Regions from separate parts of the Homo sapiens genome. Here region 1 is linked to region 2. The links are contacts of gene promoters, found by promoter capture Hi-C in blood cells and fetal thymus (Javierre and others, 2016). All regions are on one chromosome and are shown on one strand. The core of a region is centred on a gene start or on the middle of the fragment in contact, and the rest is flanking DNA. Distances in the headings are between cores, read along the strand shown.

Region 1 (5,348 bases), core at 2,509-5,008, 1.3 Mb after region 2:
TTCTCTTCATTTCTGAGAAATAACAATTATGAGTTTGATGCATATTCTTCCTGTTTATAGTCGGAAGTCTACAGAGCCAAGATGATATGTCAGGTTTGGTTTTAACAACTTCTCTTCCTCCTGCTACCTATTTAAAAACTCAATATTACAAGGCCTGAACAGATTGCTACGTATATAGATCCTAGTGACTCCAACAGAGTCAATAGACCTGTGTAATTTTTTATTTTATTCATTCCCCTGCTGATGGACATGTAGATTATTTCCACATCTTTGTTATGTCAAACAACACTTTCTTGAACAGCTGTGTGCATAGAACTGGAGTTCCTTGGTTATACTGATATTTGTTTTCAATTATTCTAAGAATAGCTAGGTCAGTCTACAATTTCTATCTCCATTAGCAGTGGGACAGTTCTGGTTTCCCCATATCTTGGCCCATTTTTACACTGTCAGATCGTTTCACTTTTTCTAATTTAAATTGAGAAAAAGTGTCTCAATGCATTTTCTCAATTACTAGTGATCTTATACATCTCCTCATATTTATTGGCCATTTGGATTTCCTTTTTTTTTGAGTTGCCTTTTCTAAGGCTTCGATCCCTTCTTTTGGGTTGACTCATTGTTTTTATTGATCTGTGGAAGTTTTCAGGATACTTATTCATTGTCTATTTTACATATGACAAAACTGTTCTTCCAGCCTGTATCTTGTCTCAATTTTTTATGTCATCATATACTGGAATGAGTTAAATATGTCAGAAATTTTCATTGTGGTTTGTGCTTTTGGCTCTTCTTTAAGATAATTTTCCCACCTTGAATTCATAAACACATTTTTCAGTATATTCTCAAATAGCCCTAAAGTTCTCTTTTATACAGTCTTTAATCCATCACTAATTTACTCTTCTAAGTAGTGCACGGTAGAGCTCTATTTTATTTTTCCCCCCAAGATCAATATCTCTTATTGAATTGTTGATTGCTTTTCATGGGATTGGTAAGCCACCTTTATTATATACAGACTCCCACATATACAGTTGAGCCTTGAACAAATGAAGTGCATGGGTCCACTTATACAGGGATTTTTTTTTTCCACAACCGTATTGGTAAATTTTTTGGAGATTTAGAACAATTTGAAAAAACTCCCAGATGTATCTTGTACTCTAGAAATATTGAAAAATATAAGAAAAAATTAGGTGTGTCATGAATGCATAAAATATGTATAGATATTAGTGTATTTTAACATTTGCTACCATAAAATATGTACAATCCTGTTACAAAAAGTTAAAATTTATCAGAATTTACACACACACACAGACCATACATAATGCCATTTGAAGTTGAGATAAATGTAAACAAATGTAAAGATATAGTATTAAATCATAACTGCATAAAATTAACTATAGTAATACTGTATTATTATAAGAATTTTGTAGCCTCTTCCTTTTGCCATTGCAGTGAGCTCGTGTGGTGAGTATCCTCTTAAAATGCTGCAGGATGCTAATCATCTCTGCCTGAGCAATTTTTTTCTCTCTGGTAAATTGTCTATCACAGTAAAAAGTGATCTCTTGAGTATCATGTTTAGGGCAATATCCTAAAGCTTGAATAATACTATGGGGCCCAGACGAAGTGCCACTAGTGATGCTGGAAATGTTCCCAAGAAGCAGAGAAAAGTCACGACAGTATAAGAAAATGTTGAATTGCTTGATGTGTAGGGTACATTGAGGTCTGCAGTGAGGTTGCCAGCCATTTCAGACAGGCTATTCATCTTGTAAATGGTTAAGGTATCCATAAATATAGTACAGTATAGTAAATACATTTTCTCCTCCTTATGATTTTCTTAAAAACATTTTCTTTTCTCTAGTTTTCTTTACTGTAAGAATCCAGTATTTAGTACATGTCACATACAAAATCTGTGTTAATCAACCGTTGATATCTGTAAGACTTCCAGTCAACAGCAGGCTCTTAGTAGTTCAGTTTTGGGAGGAGTCAAAAGTATTTGAGGAGTTTCAACTGCACAGGGATTCAGCACCCTGAATCCCCTCATTGTTCCAGGGTCAACTGTACATGTATCTGTGTCTGGTCTCAGTATCTGTGCTTAGAGGTACTGTTGATATCAGCTCAAATATTACAGTTTGATAAGGGAGAAGTCTTTTTTTTGTTTTAAGGCATCATTTTGGGGGTTGTCATTTAAATATTTGACTCTAACAGTGCTAGCTCTACCGCCTTGAACAAGTGACTTAATGTCTCAATGACTCAGTTCTGTCATCTGAAAATTAGAGGTATGAATCTTCTTATAGGTCATAAGAATTAAATGATTTATTGTACCAAGAGTAAACCGAACAGTGTTTGCCATGTTATAGTCACCAGGTATGTTAGCTATTTTAAATAATATTTTACTATTAGAAATAAAGAGGGACTTCTGTTCATCAAAAGATATGAAAAAAAGAGAGAAATGACAAACCAAGGAGTGTGAACTGATATTGTATTACTCATATCCAGCAAAGAGCTGATATCCATTATATATAAAGAGCTAGTGCAGAGAACGCCAACCCAATAGAAAAATGGACAAAATACATAATAGGCAGCTTATGAGTAAGAATACCCAAATGGCCAATGAACGTGAAAAAATTACTCACTCTCATTTGCAGTTAGGGAAATGAATTTTTTTTTTTTAAGTTTTAAGTGACAAAATCTCACTGTGTCACCCCAGGCTGTTGTGTGGGGACGAAATCACAGGTAAAACAAATCTTAATGCCCTCACCTAACTGGCTAAAACTAAAAAGTCTGATATTCACCAAAGGTTTGCAAAAGTGAAGAGCACTGAGCACCCTCATACACAGCTATCCTGTGTGTAAATTGATAAAAACTGTTGAAAAACAATCAGGCATGGTAAAGTTTGAATTCACATACAGTTGTCCCTTGATATTCTGCAGGTGGATGGGGTTTGGTCCTTAGTAACCCCTGAGGATTCTGAGGATTTTCAAGTCCATATATAAAATGGCTTGGTATGAGCATGTAACCTATACGTATTTTCCAACATACTTTAAGTCATCTCTAGATTACTTACATTATGATGAAAATGCTATGTAAATAATTGTTTACTGTATTATGTTCTATTTATTTTTATTGTTTTTTTTTTCTGAATAATTTCTACCCACAGTTGGCTGAATTCACTGATGCTGAAGCCAGAGGTTACAGTGGGCTGCCTGTATTCTGTGACAAGGGATCCATTCATACCTAAGAGGACACATGAGCTCCAGTATACATGTCCAAGCATGTTCTGAGCAACACTGTAAGAGGCCAAAAGTGGAAACAACCCAAGTGCCCATCAACAGCACAAACATTTATACCATTGAATGCCTTACGGCAAGGTAACAGGATCAAGTACAGCTACATGGAACACATAGATGAGGGAAATAAAACACAAAATACATTAAAATATAAAAAGCACAATTCTATGTATATAAGGTTACATAACATTTTCAAAATCAGCAACGTTTTAATTAATTTAATTAATTTAGAATTCTCCTGCAGAGGAGTTTTCTCTCTTTTCTCCAATGTGTTAATTTATTTAATCATTTATTTACAACAGCACAGATTAATATTTATTTTATATTTTGGAATATGATATAGTAGTATTTTAGTTTGTTCCTTAAATTGTTCAAGATTTGGCCATTGGGAGCTGTTTTATTGGTTTTTGTACCCCTCTAAAATTACCCCATCAATGCTTTTGTTTGTTTTCTATTTATCACATCCTTATTTTCCAGCACTCCAAGATGCTCTAGGCCCTTTCTGTATATTTCCTTTCCAGATTTAGAAACTGTATTTCTTCATCAGTATTGCTAGATTGTTTTTTTCTTTAAAAGTGTTAGATTTCAGTTTTATTAATCATCTTTTTAAAAAAACATATTGTCCCTTTTATTTGTAATTCTATTTTTATTTTAATGTTTTATTTTTTGTTTTGGTTTTGTTTTACTAATTGCTTGACTTCAACATAAAAAAAGTTTTAGAAATGTGGTTATTAATTTTCAAGTAAATATGATTGGATTCAGGTTTTTTATTTTTAACCTTCAATATTATTTCACTGAGGTCCAGATGTGCTGAATTTATTGACCTATTAAATTTTAATTGACATTTATTTTGTAGTCTTGTATTGGGAAATTCTTCTGTTTTCTATATATTTTTGGTTGTTGCAGGTTATATGATCAAAATTGTTGTTTGTTGTGCAAATTATTATAGCATTACTAGTTTTGTTCTCTGCACTATTGATTTCTGAGAAAACGGTGTTACGGGGAAAAAACAAACTTCCATCATGAGTGCAGATTTTTCAGTTTTACCTTATAACTCTCAGTCTTGGCTATGTGTCACTGTTATGTGTTTAGGTGCGTTAAGTTCATCACTGTAATGTTTTCCTAGTGAATTTTCTTTTCAATAACTATGAAATGTGCTCCTTTGATCCTATCAATACACTGGATATTAATATTGTTGCCCTAGGTTTCTTTTGTTTAATATTTGTCTGGATTGCCTGTTCCCATAAATTGACCTTTAATCAGTTAGCTTTGTTCTTAAGATTGGTTTAAAACGTAGAATAATAGGGAGGAGCATGGGAGGGTGGGACGTCTAATGTAAATCCAGCCCAGTGATTACATTAGCTGGGCGCTGATTAGGTTAGGATGTTGCCCAGGTACAAGGCCAGGATCTTCGGGGCCTGGCTTCATTTGGAGTTCAGCTACCAAAAGGAAACCTTCCTCTGGGTCCTGGAGTATTTGGCCTGAAATTGGGAACTCGGAAGTTGCTGCTCCAGGGCGCTCCCTGCGGAGCTCCGCCGCCCGCCTCTCCGCCCGGCCTTTCCCGGCGTCCCCACGCGGGGCGCAACCGCGAGAAAGAAACGCAGGTCGCACCGTCAGCGCCCAGAGCAGCGCCAGTTTCCGGGCCCGGGCTGCTCTCGGAGCCATGAGCTGCGGCCGCCCCCCTCCCGACGTGGACGGCATGATCACCCTCAAGGTGGACAACCTGACCTACCGCACCTCTCCCGACAGCTTGAGGCGCGTGTTCGAGAAGTACGGGCGCGTGGGCGACGTGTACATCCCGCGGGAGCCCCACACCAAGGCGCCCCGGGGCTTCGCTTTCGTCCGCTTTCACGACCGGCGCGACGCCCAAGACGCCGAGGCCGCCATGGACGGGGCGGAGCTGGACGGACGCGAGCTGCGGGTGCAGGTGGCGCGCTATGGCCGCCGGGACCTGCCCCGCAGCCGCCAGGGAGAGCCACGCGGCAGGTCCAGAGGCGGCGGCTACGGACGGCGGAGCCGCAGCTACGGGCGGCGGAGCCGCAGCCCCAGGCGGCGACACCGCAGCCGATC
Region 2 (5,331 bases), core at 1,504-4,003:
CTGGAGTGCAGTGGTGCAATCACAGCTCACTGCAACCTCAAACTCCTGGAAACTCCAGGGATGCTCCTGCCTCAGCCTCCCAAGTAGCTAGCTAGGACTAATGGCATGCACCACTATGCTCAGCTTACAAAAAAACTGTATCTTTCAAGACAATGTATGAGCTCCAAAAGGCTGTATGGTTCGGTTCACTGCTAAGAGTGTCTGAGTAAAACAAACACAGCCTACCGAACCGGAGGATGTAGTCTGGAAGAGATGCTAATATGACCCAAAGAATACATTTTTTCTCGACGAATGTGTCCCATAATATATTCACATTTTGAATTTAAAGTATTTGCAATGCTATTATATCAATCTATGTAACTAGATAAACTTGGAAGGTCAGTGAAATCTAGTTTTCCTTCTTTCCCAATTCCTGAAAATTATCTTTACTGTCACTCATTATATACAATAGTTTCTCATAATTCAGATACAATAAACATGATTGAATCCACTCACCTTCGATTTGCAAGTTCCACAGCATCAGATGTCACATGGTCAAGAGAATCTATTCCTGATTTATCCATCAATTGCTCTTTGTTTTAAACAGTTTTCTGAAATTATGAAATTTAGTAAATATGACAAAGCTTCCCTAAATATTGACAGTATCTACTACAGTGTTGAACGTGGTCAGACTATGCCAATGATTTCAGGCGAAATCATTTACCAAGGTTAAGCTTCTTATCCATTTCAGATCAGTTTCTTTAAAAAGAAATCCAGAAATTCTATTCACAGGTTCTTTCAGTTGTTACCCTCTAAATGTATTCAACGCAACAAGATTCCAAAAAAGTACCGTCCCTTCCAACAAAAGCATCTTTCAATATAAGTAAAAAATGTAGTTTTATCATTAGCCACATATTTTAACGTACAATTACCAATACAGTATTAATGTACAATTAAAAGCCGTTTTCCAAGATCAAAGGGGGAATTCCTAAAGCAAAGTGTGCCCTATATAAACCAGGAAAAGGATCTCCAATCAATAAACCATTTTAAACTCCTAATCACCTCTCCATTATAATTCCTAGATTCTTCATTCCTAGATTCATTTAAGCAACTGAACTTTGTCATATTGTATCTTTGCCATTATTGGTGGAAACTGACAAGTTCTGAATTCTCAACCTTTTTCAATGAACTATCATAATTCTTGTGTCTTCATCCCCATGGTAGAGAGTATACAACATACCAAAAAAAAAAAAAAAAAAAAAGAAAAAGATTCCTTCTTGTGAGCTAAAAGAAAAAAGAAAAACAGGTTGGTCTGGGTGGCTCAGGCCTGTGTAACACAGCACTTTGGGAGGTCGAGGCGGGCGGATCGCTTGAGCCCAGGAGCTCAAGACCAACCTGGGCAACGTGGTGAAACTCCGTCTCTACAAAAAATACGGAAATTAGCCAGAATAGTGGCGCGCGCCTGTGGTCAGGAGGCTGGGGTAGGTGGAATACCTGAGCCTGGGAGGTGGAGCTTGTATGTAGTGAGCCTCAGCAACACAAGGAGACCCTTGTCTCTACAAAAAATTCTTAAAATACTGGCTAGGTGTGTTGGCCCGTGCCTTTGCTCCCAGCCACTCGGGAGGATCGCTTAAGCCGCGGTGGAGGTTGCTGTTAGCCGAGATTGCACCACTGCACTCCAGCCTGGACGACAGAGCAAGACCCTGTCTCAGGAAAAAAAAAAAAAAAAAAAAAAAAAAAAAAAAAGGCATGGCAACAAAAATTAAAGATAACTACTTATTTCATTATTGTACATGCCTTAGTCAATCTCTTGTCTCATTCTGTAGCTTCTTGGGACCTGACATGAGTCATTACATATAAATCCTAGGATGAACTAGCAAAATATTTAAAATATGAAACGATAAGGTCACCAAGAGCTCAGATTTGTTAAATGCCCCCTGTGGTATTTTCCTGGTACAAGGTCTTACTAGTTTTTTTAAGTACAAGATTCTACAAAGTCATTAAATATCGAATGCTCAAAAACGGAATTCAACAAAAATTTGCCCCCATGCTTTAACGGTATACCTGTAGTTAATTTTTTTTAAAAGTAGGGATTATCAAAATAAAGCTAGCTCAATAATCACTTTTTCGAAGTGTTTAGAAGACACTCCTACTTGGGTGTCGATGCCTCCGTGGGGATTCTGCAATTCTTAGAGGCCACGTGGGCAGAGAGCGGCGCTTTACCCGGAGCTAACGCTGTGACCACCAGCGCCTCTCACCCGGCAGCGCCTAACCTGCAGAAAACCGGCGCGAGTAATGGGTACCTCACATACGAAGGTTAAATCATTTAAATCACGTAATAAGGTTAAACTTGTCCGCAACACGATTTAACACCTCCATCTCAAGATATAATGAAGCCCGTCCACACTACAACCACGTTTGTGTGGGACTCATACCAGCCGCGTGGCGCGGAGTGGCCTGCGGCCGTGATCCCTTCACCCTCTCGGACCGACTTCGGAGTCTCGATCCTCCGGACCAACGAAGGGGCCCCGGGAAACCCCAGATATGCAACGCCTCCCCCGCCCGCCAGGCCCGGACGGCCTCGCCCTCTTAGCAACCTACCTAAAACGGCCTCGCAGTGGCCCCAACCGCGCACTTGCTGCTTGTAACCCAGGCCTCGGCCCAAAACCCGCGACTGGCCTGGTGTCCTAGAGCTCTGTACACACCACCCTCCCGACCTCAGCCCTCCAACTCCCGATAACCAGCCGACCTCCTCCAACCGTGCGGAAGAAAAGGGTTGGCTATTTCCGTGGCCCAAGTAATAGTCAGGCCGAAATCTCGCGATACAACTTAGCTTCCGGGAAGAAGGCGAGCGGTGGGAGGAGACGCGACGTGGGGGCGCCATTTTTCTCGCCGCGCAGGGAGGACTGACTAACGTGGGCGGAGCTCTAGCTCGCGTATTCTGAGGAGGCGGGGTTGGCCTAGGCGAAGATCCGGACTCTGGGTGTTTTGCTACCGTGACCGTTTAGGTGAGTGGAATAGCCAAGAACATTTCGGCAAATAACAAAAACAAAACGTGCGGTCACTTGTGAGTGGATGAGAACTGTGAGGAAACAGCCTCTCAGCCCGGTTCGTTTCCGGTGGTCTCGCGTTTGCTGAGCTGTCGCCTGGCTTTCTAAATCTGGTCCCGGGTGTGTGGCGAGGGTGACGGGTGGGATGTGTGCCTGAGTGTTTTGTAATCCTTTGTCTATTTCTGCCTTCAGAAACCCTTGTGTGTTAAAATATTGGAGAAGGCTCATTCTTTGACCATGACTCGAAGTGTGTAACCTTTGTGCTGGACGCCAGTGTTATTCCATAGCACGCCCAGGTCTCCTCCCCACTTTTGCACCTGTTTCGTAAGCTCACCCTTTCTGCCTCCCAGGAGTTGGCTAACATGTCACAAGTGAGACCTGTGGAGGATTTGTTTTTCCTAAGTTTCCTCCTACATCCCCCCTGCCCCACACCATTAGTTCCTTGACCGGTTCCTGAGTTAAGATTAAACAGTGTAAACTAGTTTAGTTTTGGTGGGGTTTTTTTCTCCCAAAGTAATTTTTTTTTTTTTGAGACCGAGTTTCGCTCTTGTTGCCCAGGCTGGAGTGCAACGGTGCGATCTTGGCTCACCGCAACATCTGCTTCCCGGGTTCAAGCGATTCTCCTGCCTCAGTCTCCCCAGTAGCTGAGATTACAGGCGTGCGCCACCATGCCCAGCTAATTTTTGCATTTTTAGTAGAGGCGGGGGTTTCTCCATGTTGGTCAGGCTGGTCTCAAACTCCCGACCTCAGGTGATCCTCCCGCCTCGGCCTCCCAAAGTAATTTTAAAAAGGAATGAACTGGTTTGATTTTTCCGCTTTCAAAATTCTGTTTTCATATGATAAACCACAAAAATCAGTAAAGCTGTCTAGTCTTATTTTATAGTTCACATTTTAGGATTGAACGGGCCTTAAAAGTAATCTGGTCTCTTTACCTGCTTTGCTCCATAGTTTGGACAATTCCGGGGATAAAAAGTCCGATCCTTTAGGCAGCCCACTGCATTTGATCCACAGGGTCTGGGCAATGACGAAGCTCCAGGACTGGTATGGCATGTCCCTCACTGCCGTATTCAGCAGCAAGCCTAGCTGTGTAATTTGTGAGGCTCAATGCAAAATGAAAATGCAGCGTCCCTTGTTCAAAAAGAAGGGGAAAAGTGCTATTAAAGGGAAGGAACATTTAACTCCTAATGCAGAATCATTGAAATTTCACATTTCATTTTGTATTTTTTCTTTTTTCTTTTTTTTTTTAGAAACAGAGTCTCGCTCTGTCGCCCAGGCTGGAGTGCAGTGTGGCCCGATCTCAGCTCACTGCAACCCCCACCTCCCGGGCTCAAGAGATCCACCCACCTCAGCTTCCCAAGTAGCTGGGACTACACGCGCCCGCCACCACAACCGGCTAATTTTTGTACTTTTAGTAGAGACCAGGTTTCACCATGTTGGCCAGGCAGGTCTCGAACTCTTGACCTCAAGTGATCCGTCTGCCTCGGCCTCCCAAAGTGCTGGGAGTACAGGCGTGAATCACCGCGCCCGGCCACATTTGGTATTTCTCTGTTTGTGTTATAGAGACAGGGTCTTGCTCTGCCACCCAGGCTGGAGTGCAGTTGAAGCAGGATATTCCTCTGACCCCTTCGTGGGTCTTGCGGCTGCGGTGCCTCACTTACTTAGCCCACGGCTCTCAACTCCTCGCGGGAGGGGGGGCGCGAGTGAATGAGGCGGGAACTGGAGTGCTGGAAGCCACGAACTCCAGTCACCCAGGCCTGCTGCGCTCCACCCTTTATGGGAGGGTGCGTGGGGGTGAGCAGATGCTGGAGCCGGAGCGAGCGCTTTTGGTCGCCGGTAGGAGCGAACTCCATGCAGGCCCTGCGGCTGTGTCTAGGGGATGCCCGCGACCCCTGAAGACCCACAGCCTGTCTTACAACCTGTCATGGTTGTGAAAAGTTTTGAGAGAACGTCTGCACAGTGTCTAACGGTGTCTGGTATATAGTGTGCACTCAAATGGTAACCAGTTTAGTTGCGATAGTTGGTCTACCCCTCCAGGTGTTAACCTCTGCAGCTCCGTTTCCCTTCTAGACCCTATTTCTGGGCCATCGACTCCCACCAATTAGGCAGGAAAATACTGTTTGCCTCCATCTGGCCCAAGGCTGTATTCCTGGAGTTTATGTGAGAACCTAACTCCTTTCTCAGCTCCAACTGTAACCCTCTCCCCACCTCCAACACACACATAAACACTCACATACACATGCTACCACACTGCCTGCTGTGCCATCAGCCTGCCTGAAGTTCACATCATTTTAGAATTGGACGG

Evidence for each region. Contacts are between HindIII fragments. The CHiCAGO score rates a contact against its expected background, and 5 or more counts as called.
Region 1: a fragment that was not itself captured here is called in contact with the fragment with the promoter of TAF1D in region 2 in 1 of 17 cell types (total CD8 T cells); the score reaches 6.4 in total CD8 T cells.

Annotation. Positions count from the first base shown.
Region 1 is chr11:95,062,286-95,067,633 of GRCh38, forward strand. It overlaps SRSF8 (serine and arginine rich splicing factor 8), which reads left to right and starts at 4,634. Exons shown (of 1, transcript NM_032102.4): 1 at 4,634-5,348. The coding sequence starts at 4,942. RefSeq lists enhancers at 4,458-5,215, 4,940-5,129 and a silencer at 4,610-4,689. The HindIII fragment of the contact is 4,351 bases long and covers 1,584-5,348 here.
Region 2 is chr11:93,738,742-93,744,072 of GRCh38, forward strand. TAF1D (TATA-box binding protein associated factor, RNA polymerase I subunit D) reads right to left here and starts at 2,754. Exons shown (of 6, transcript NM_024116.4): 1 at 2,581-2,754; 2 at 496-590. The coding sequence starts at 563. C11orf54 (chromosome 11 open reading frame 54) reads left to right here and starts at 2,931. Exons shown (of 9, transcript NM_001286069.2): 1 at 2,931-2,987. RefSeq lists enhancers at 1-376, 2,414-2,923, 3,052-3,737, 3,504-3,623, 4,144-4,683. The HindIII fragment of the contact is 24,379 bases long and covers 712-5,331 here.